Linked DNA regions of Homo sapiens: region 1 is linked to region 2. The links are contacts of gene promoters, found by promoter capture Hi-C in blood cells and fetal thymus (Javierre and others, 2016). All regions are on one chromosome and are shown on one strand. The core of a region is centred on a gene start or on the middle of the fragment in contact, and the rest is flanking DNA. Distances in the headings are between cores, read along the strand shown. Region 1 holds the start of CTSW (cathepsin W). Region 2 holds the start of SIPA1 (signal-induced proliferation-associated 1).

What was found. The method cuts DNA at HindIII sites, captures the fragments that hold promoters and counts their contacts. A CHiCAGO score of 5 or more calls a contact.
Region 1: the fragment with the promoter of CTSW here is called in contact with the fragment with the promoter of SIPA1 in region 2 in 2 of 17 cell types (M1 macrophages and endothelial precursors); the score reaches 5.2 in M1 macrophages.

What each region holds. Positions count from the first base shown.
Region 1 is chr11:65,878,193-65,883,171 of GRCh38, forward strand. It overlaps CTSW (cathepsin W), which reads left to right and starts at 1,645. Exons shown (of 10, transcript NM_001335.4): 1 at 1,645-1,749; 2 at 2,010-2,094; 3 at 3,215-3,328; 4 at 3,983-4,137; 5 at 4,238-4,334; 6 at 4,417-4,497; 7 at 4,587-4,712; 8 at 4,877-4,941. The coding sequence starts at 1,663. The HindIII fragment of the contact is 11,122 bases long and covers 1,081-4,979 here.
Region 2 is chr11:65,636,851-65,640,609 of GRCh38, forward strand. SIPA1 (signal-induced proliferation-associated 1) reads left to right here and starts at 1,251. Exons shown (of 16, transcript NM_006747.4): 1 at 1,251-1,332. It overlaps PCNX3 (pecanex 3), which reads left to right. Exons shown (of 35, transcript NM_032223.4): 35 at 1-589. The coding sequence ends at 128. RefSeq lists enhancers at 72-862, 1,814-1,883 and a silencer at 1,094-1,463. The HindIII fragment of the contact is 3,649 bases long and covers 1-1,908 here.

The DNA of each region.
Region 1 (4,979 bases), core at 395-2,894, 240 kb after region 2:
AGCCAGCTCTTCACACCCTTCTCTGGTCTTGGTCACCAGTTCTCAGCCTGAACTCCTATAGGGGAGGTCCCCAGCCCAAGGACCCACTTAGAACAAAGGCAGCAGTAACGGGTGTTAATGCTGCTGCCCAGCCCTTGACCTCACAAGTCAGGCTTTGGCCTCCCTCCGTCTGTGATGCTCACCCTGTTATCCTTCTGGCTCTTCAGCCCCCTCATCCTCATCCCTAGACCGTGGGAGGGATGAGGAACGGGAGGCACTGGCTGCAGTTGCTGCTCCCGGACTCTGACTCTGCGCTTTCCTGTTTTGTTTTGTTTTTTGAGATGGAGTTTCACTTTTGTTGCCCAGGCTGGAGTGTAATGGTGCGATCTCGGCTCACTGCAACCTCCACCTCTCAGGTTCAAGTGATTCTTGTGCCTCAGCCTCCCGAGTAACTGGGATTATAGGCGCCCGCCACCATGCCCAGCTGCTTTTTTGTATTTTTAGTAGAGACAGGGTTTCACCATGTTGGCCAGGCTGGTCTCCAACTCCTGACCTCAGGTGATCCACCCGCCTCGGCCTCCCAAAGTGCTGGGATTACAAGCGTGAGCCACCGTGCCTGGCCTGGTTTTGTTTTTTTGACACAGGATCTTGGACCCACGCTGGAGTGCAGAGGCATGATCATAGCTCACTGCAGCCTTAATCTTCCAGGCTCAAGCAATCCCACTGGCCTCAGCCTCCCCAGTAGCTGGGACTACAGGAGAGCACCACCATGCTTGGCTAACTTTTTTTTTTTTAAGTAGAGATGAAGCCTTGCTCAGTTGTCCAAGTTTGTCTCCAACTCCTGAGCTCAAATGATTCTCCTACCTTGGCCTCCCAAAGTGATGAGATTACAGGCATGAGCCATTATGCCCGGCCTGCTTTCCTGTTTAAAACTCATGATGATCAATTGTTCAGTCAACAAACACCTAGCGAGCCTGACTCATGCCTAGCCCTATCCTGGGAACCGAGGACACCGAGGACACAAGCGAACTGAACACTTCTGGTGTGGTTGGAGGCAGATGCCCAATGGGCACAGGTGCAGCTGGGCTGAAGGGGCTGCAAAGCTTCTACCAGAGGTTGGGGAAGCAGGGAAGGCTTCTTGAAAGAGGCGGCCATTGAGCTGACTGAGCTTCATAGGATGAGCAAGAGTGGTTCCCTTGGCTGGGCGCAGTGGCTCATGCCTGTTATCCCAGCACTTTGGGAGGCTGAGGCAGGTGGATCACCTGAGGTCAGGAGTTGGAGACCAGCCTGACCAACATGGTGAAATGCTGTCTCTACTGAAAATACAAAAAATTCGCTGGGCATGGTGGTGCATGCCTGTAGTCCCAGCTAGTCGGGAGGCTGAGGCAGGAGAATTGCTTGAACCCGGGAGGTGGAGGTTGCAGTGAGCCGAGATCATGCCACTGCACTCCAACCTGGGTGGAAAAAAAAAAGAAAGAAAGAAAGAAAGAAAAAGGGGTGGGATGGGGAGCAGACAGGCAGGGACTGAAAGCCTGAAGGCCTGAGCAACTTGTGGGTTCTAGGGGTCCACCCTCCACCCACCAAGCCTGTCTTCCCCTTCGTGGTTTCTCCAGCCCCACCCTCACACCGTCCTCCTCGATCTGCGCGGCTTCCTGCCTCCATGCCACTCCAGACTGCACCGGCATGGCACTGACTGCCCACCCCTCCTGCCTCCTGGCCCTGTTGGTGGCAGGCCTAGCCCAAGGCATCAGAGGCCCCCTTAGGGCCCAGGTAAGTGCTCCCAAACCCTTACCTATGCCAGTCCCACGCCTGGGGTCACCCCTTCAGAAACAGCTGGCCTGTCATTCTCATTTTTCAGAGGGAGTTGCTGAGGCTGGAGAGGGGGCTGACGTGCCCAAGGGCACATGGGAAGACAGAAAAGGCTAACTGGCTGACCCCTAGCCCAGTCCTTGCACGGCTGGGAACTAAGGTGGGGCCCCAGCAATGATTCCTCTGCCCACTGCCCCTCTCCACCCTTGGTTCCTTGCCAGGACCTAGGTCCCCAGCCGCTAGAGCTGAAAGAGGCCTTCAAGTTGTTCCAGATCCAGTTCAACCGGAGTTACCTGAGCCCAGAAGGTATCACAGGGCACATACATCTCCAGTCCAAGCCCCCACTTTTTTTTTTTTTGAGACGGAGTTTCACTCTTGTTGACCAGGCTGGAGTGCAATGGTGTCATCTTGGCTCACTGCAACCTCCACCTCCCGGGTTCAAGCGATTCTCCTGCTTCAGCCTCTGAGTAGCTGGGATTACAGGCATGCGCCACCACACTTGGCTAACCTTTACATTTTTAGTAGAGATGGGGTTTGACCATGTTGGCCAGGCTGGTCTTGAACTCCTGACATCAGGTGATCCGCCTGCCTCGGCCTCCCAAAGGGCTGGGATTACAGGTGTAAGCCACGGAGCCCAGCCATCCCGCTTTGTAATAGATGAAGAAATCGAAGCTCAGGGTGGGGAACAGGCATGGCCAAGGCCACTCAGCAGGACAGGCCAGGGCTGGGGGTGTGTTCCCTGGTTTCCCGAAGGCATGAGTGGGTCCAGGATCATTCTTTGCTATGGATCTGGAGGGCAGTGGCAGGAGGTGGGGTCCTGCCCTAGTCCTACGTGATCCCCTGGCTCCACAGCCACTTCCCTGCGATTCTAGGCAGTGGACAGGGGGCCACCACCTAGTCATTTGCTCATTCAGCAAACACCCAAGGACACCCATTTTGTCCCCACATTGGGGACTTCTTCTCTAGCCCATGATCTAACCCCTGCCCCTGCCCTCTCGCTGTGCTGATCTCTCTAGGGGGCTGATCTGTGTGTGCCTTTTAGCCCAGACTGCCTGTGCCTTGTCATCTCCTCTCCCTGCCATGTTCCAGCTCTCCTCCTGTGGTCAGAGGTGTAAAGGACGTGGCCTGGCAGGAAGCTGGTCTCCAGCCACACATCCTTGAGTCACCACCACCGGACCCCTTGCCTGGCTTCCCACCTAGGGTGGCCAGAGATGGTCCTCTGGCTGCCTCTGGGGAAAACCCAACCCTCGGTGGGCTGGGTAACCACTTCCTGGGCCTGGGTATCTGCAGTGGGGCCTTGTGGGGGCTACAGGAAAGGAGCCAGTGCTCAACTGGGTGGGTGTGGGTGGAAGGGTGCCCAGCCAGCGGCTACTTCCTGCCCCTAAGGGCTTGGGAGTCAGCCTAGGACAACTCCCTTTTGGTCCAGAGCATGCTCACCGCCTGGACATCTTTGCCCACAACCTGGCCCAGGCTCAGAGGCTGCAGGAGGAGGACTTGGGCACAGCTGAGTTTGGGGTGACTCCATTCAGTGACCTCACAGGTACCATTAACCCTTCTGGCTCGTAGGTGGTGGTTGGGAAGCGATCTCCCCAGGGACACTGGCAGCTGGACCCAGCGGACCTTCAATTTTTACTTCCCAGGGAAGGAAATTCATTTCCCTGAGGACCAGGGGCTTGGGTGCTGGTATCAAATCACCCAGTGCAGGGGCAGAATCTCTGCAGTCCTGTGTCCTAATCCAGCCTAGGGGCCAGCGCAGCAGCTGCAGGGAAGCACCCAGCAGGGAGCCCAGCCTCTCTAGGCTTGGCACCCTTGCCTTTTTGAGACAGGGTCTTGCTCTGTTGTCCAGGCTGCAGTACAATAGTGCAATCACAGCTCACTCAGCCTCCACCTCCTAGACTCAAGCAATTCCCCCGACCCCTCAGCCTTCTAAGTAGCTGGGGCTACAAGCCCGCACAACCACGCCCAGCTAATTTTTCTACTTTTTGTGGAGATGGGGTCTCGGACTCCTGACCTCAAGTGATCCACCCACCTTGGCCTCCCAAAGTGCTGGGATTATAGGTGTGAGCCACCACGCCCGGCCTATCCTTGCCTTTTTGCCCCTCAGGGAATTATGGGACCAACAGCTGGAGTGGGAGAGGCAGAACAGGGAGAAGGGGTCAAAATGGAGACCTCAGTGGCCCTGTCTGTTCCCCAGAGGAGGAGTTTGGCCAGCTCTATGGCTATCGGAGGGCAGCTGGAGGGGTCCCCAGCATGGGCAGAGAAATAAGGTCTGAAGAGCCAGAGGAGTCAGTACCTTTCAGCTGTGACTGGCGGAAGGTGGCCAGCGCCATCTCACCCATCAAGGACCAGGTATCTGCCGCTACCCAGCTGGCTCTAATTCAGCTAAGTGGTGGGAGGGAGAGGGGCACGGCCCGAACACCTAGCCCCGCCCCACCCTCTCGCCCTCCAGAAAAACTGCAACTGCTGCTGGGCCATGGCAGCGGCAGGCAACATAGAGACCCTGTGGCGCATCAGTTTCTGGGATTTTGTGGATGTCTCCGTGCAGGGTAGGGTTGGGAGAGGGTGCGCGTGTGACAGGGGAGGGAGGCCTAGGGGCCTGGTCACCCACACTGTCCCTTCTTGCACCAGAACTGCTGGACTGTGGCCGCTGTGGGGATGGCTGCCACGGTGGCTTCGTCTGGGACGCGTTCATAACTGTCCTCAACAACAGTGAGTGCACTGCCCCGCCACTCTGGACATCTGCAGGGGGACAGGGTGGGCAGGAGCGGAACCTCCTCCCTTGTCTTGCTTATCTGCAGGCGGCCTGGCCAGTGAAAAGGACTACCCGTTCCAGGGCAAAGTCAGAGCCCACAGGTGCCACCCCAAGAAGTACCAGAAGGTGGCCTGGATCCAGGACTTCATCATGCTGCAGAACAACGAGCACAGTGCGGGCAGGGCAGGGACACGGGCGGATGGCAGGGACAGACACCGGGGCAGAGGCAGACACGCTGGGCTACTGGGCTAGAAGACAAGAGGGGGTGGGGGGAGCGAAGGAGCGAGAGACCCACACACCCACATGCCAAGGGTCTGATGATGTTCCTGTCCCCAGGAATTGCGCAGTACCTGGCCACTTATGGCCCCATCACCGTGACCATCAACATGAAGCCCCTTCAGGTGAGATGGGGGAGCTGATGGGGAAGGGGCATACAGGA
Region 2 (3,759 bases), core at 1-2,500:
ACATTCCTTGCTTGGACAGCAGTGCCCCTGAGAGTGGCACACCTATGGGTGCCCTGGGCGACTGGCCTGCCCCTATTGAGGAGCGTGAGAGCCCGGCAGCCCAGCCCCTGCTGGAACACCAGTACTGAGCTACCTGGCGCCCACTGGACCACCTCCTAGGATTCAGTAACGGACCTGCTCTGCTGCCTCTCTGCTGGACCACAGAACTGAGTGGCTTTGGCCTACATGTCTGAACCCTGACCTTTGGCTGCCTTGGCCAGAGTACCAAAACTGAGTGACCCAGACCTCTGACCTTGACCCCTGATCTCTCTCATCCCCAGTCCAGGGCCTGGGCTCCCCAGATGGAGGCAGTCAGCCTCCCAGCCAGGCCCTAAGAGCCAAACCATGGGCTGGTCCCACTTGGAGCCTGTGGCCAGGACCACCTCAGCCCCTGGGCCTGCACTGCCTGCAGGTGTGGCCCCCTTGGCCTGGACCTGGGGCCTGAATTGTGGGAAGGGTGGTTTCTTTCTTTCCTTTTTTTTCTTTTCTTTTTTTTTTTTTTTTTTGTGCTTCGGAGACATCAGAATTAATAACACTATTTTTGATTTTGGTTGGCAGTTTCTTTTTCTACCTGGGAATGGGTACATGATAGTACAGGCGGCTAAGTTGGGATGGACAAGCACGCAGAGGGGTGAAGGATGTGGGGCTGAAGTCTAGTAGAGATCAAGGGCAGACCAAGGTGGGGTTCAGGTAGAACCGGGTCCTCTTCACCGCATGGCTGCTCCCTTTTCAAGCCTTTATCTGAAGGGTATTGTCTGCCATTTCCCACCATATGGTCAGACTTCCAGGTCTGGTGGCTCCTACATTTATCAGGCTTGTTCTTGGCCAAAGCCTTTCTCTGCACCTCAGCTGCTCCAGGGCGTAAAGAGATGACACCTATCTAAGGTGTTTTTAGAATAAATGAGAGCGCGCTAGTGGAATGGTTGCCCAGGGCCCAGTGCTTAGCAAGTGCTCCATAAAATAGTGGCAGACTCTTGAGCACCTGCTGGCCGGGAGCTGGACGCTAGGTGGCCTCCGCTAGCCCTCCCGGTTGGTCTGGAAGGCAGGCACAAGTTTCTCAGGAGAGGAAATGGCCTTAGAATGAGCACTGCTCGGTGCTGACCTCCGCCAGGCCTGGAATCCCCGCTGCTGCGCTTCCCGCCGCAGACAGCTCCCGGCCGGCCCCGCCTCCCGGCATGGCCCCGCCTCCCAGCATGGCCCCGCCCCCAGGCGGAGCCGGCGCCGGGAGCGGTAGCGGGAGAGCGGCAGCGGGACCCCAGCGCGGGCGGCGGCGGCTGGGCGGGAGCCCCAGAGGTACTGGCGGGAGCAGGGGACGGGAGGCACTACTGTCGGGCCCGACAGGGGAGAGGTGGCCTAGCCGTGGGCCCGGGTGATGTGTATGGGAGTGGGGTCCTCGCCACGTTCGCCGCCAGCACCCTCCCAACTTCCCTCCGGGCTCCAGCTCAGTCCCGAGTCAATATGTCCAGCCCCCTGTCTCTGACCAGCCGTTCCTACTCTCTCTGTGTGACGGCTTAGCCTGGCCAGCCAGCCGGTGAGTGGAAGCGGCGGCTCCTGACTCCTGGTGGCGGCACTGTGACCCCCTCCCCCTCAACACTGCAAGTGTGTGCGGGGCTCCCCCTTATTCTGAGGCTCCTCTTCTTCTTAGGCGGCCTCCACCCCAGTCCCTGGCCTGGCCTGGGAGGAAACATCTGTCGCGCCCCCTGGCAGCCGAAATGGGGTCATGACCTCCAGATGTGCTGGGAAGTGGCCAGCTCCTCCTCCTGGGGCAGCCAGGCCTTCCGGATCTGTGGGGGCGGGGCCGGCCCTTTCCCCCCACCCCTAGTGACACAGGCCCGGAGGAATGTCCTAGCCTCAATGGACCCTGTGTGAAGCTTCAGGGTGGGGGGCAGAGCCCGAGAACACCCCTCAAGGCAGCGCCAGAGCCTGGCACTGGGCCACAGCAAGAGGCAGCGCACAGGCTGGGTGCACACATGCACAGATCTCACTTCCAAGCGTGCAGAGCTCAGCCCACAAGGAGCGGGGCTTGCACAGACCCCCTCCCTCATGCCCTCCTACTCCTTCACACACTATAGCCCAGGCCCGAGCGCTGAATGTGCCCAGAGCTTGGCTCATGGAGCCAGGGGCTACACCCGTCACACACACACATAGCTAGCGACACTCACCTCATTCTTCTCAGTCTCTCAGCAGCCTTGGGAGGGGACAGAAATAATTAAACCCAATTTTTTTCTTTGTTTTTTTGGAGACAGTCTCACTCTGTCCCGCAGGCTGGAGTTCAGTGGCGCGATCTCGGCTCACTGCAACCTCTGCCTCCCAGGTTTAAGCGATTCTCCTGCCTCAGCCTCCTGAGTGGCTGGGACTACAGGTGCGCACCACCACACCCGGCTAATTTTTATGTTTTTAGTAGAGACAGGGTTTCACCATGTTAGCTAGGCTGGTCTTGAACTCCTGACCTCAGGTGATCCCCCCGCCTTGGCCTCCCAAAGTGCTGGGATTACAGGCCACAGCCACCGCACCCGGCCAGTTAACCCCATTTTAGAGATGAGAAAACAGAGGCTCAAGGTCAGCATGGGAGTTTATTCAGGAGAAATCAAGGTAGAAGCACCTGGGCTGGGGAGCCGACTCTTGCTTGGTTCTGGAGGCCCCAGACGAAGGGTGTGTGGAGCCCCTCCTCCACCCCCCTCCGGCCCAGCCCCGCATGATGTTGCTGGATGCTGCATGAAGACCCACCATTAGATGCCTGTACCCCCAGTGGAGGTTCCCCAGCTCCCTGTCCTCACTGCCTACTCCATCCAGGGCTTGCCTGGGTGTGGCTTCCCTCAAGTTCTCACACCACCATTTGCACCTGCCTCTGGCGTCACGTTTCCGCACTTAGCAGGTCCCTGGGGCTTTGGGTGTCTCAATCTTGCATCCTGTGAGACCTTGAACCTCAGCCCAACACCCACCCCCCAAAACCTACGCACACAGACAGCAGTGGGCAGGTGCAGCCCTGCTTAGGGCCTGGAGATGGGCAGACCCAGGCTCACATCCTAGCTCTGACACGGAATTGCTTCAGGCAAGAGCATCTCCTCTGGACCTCATCTGACCATCTGTCACATGGGGTTCAGACCTCCCTGTCTGCATCAGTGAGACCAGGTAGGCAGAGGTCCCTATGGGTCCCTGTCATTGTGACTCCTCTTGCCCCCAAGCCTGGGCACAGTAGCCTGCAAGAAGGTGAGTTGGCCTGTCCTTCAGGGCAGGGTGACTGGGGTCCCATGACAGCTGCTGTGACCCCAGCACCTTCCTCAGGATGTGGGGGCCTGGCAGAGGGCTGGGCCCACAGTTGGGGCTACTTCCTGTGCTGAAGGAAGTCCTCTTGCCATTCCTGCTGCCCTGCCGCTGCCTCCCTGGGAACCCATGTGTCCTTGTGGTATTGAGGCCTTGAGGTCCAGGGCACTGAGATCAGACCTCTCTGGGTGATCAGCTCTCCAGGGACCCTGAAGGAAGTGGGAGGGGCAAGGAGGAAGGTCTCTGGGGACAGGACGTCCTCCCTTTGTTAAGTGGGCAGGACCCAGACACCAGTGGCCCCTGGGTTTCCCGTCCCAGCCAATACAAGTCATCTGTCCGGTTGGGCTAGGTCCTGGTGGGACCCTTACTCTGGGCCCAGGCCAAAGCTAAGGTGTGTGGGTGGCGACTGGGGGACCCTGGCAGTCCCAGGGCTGCCCAGGCTCCAGGACCCTCAGG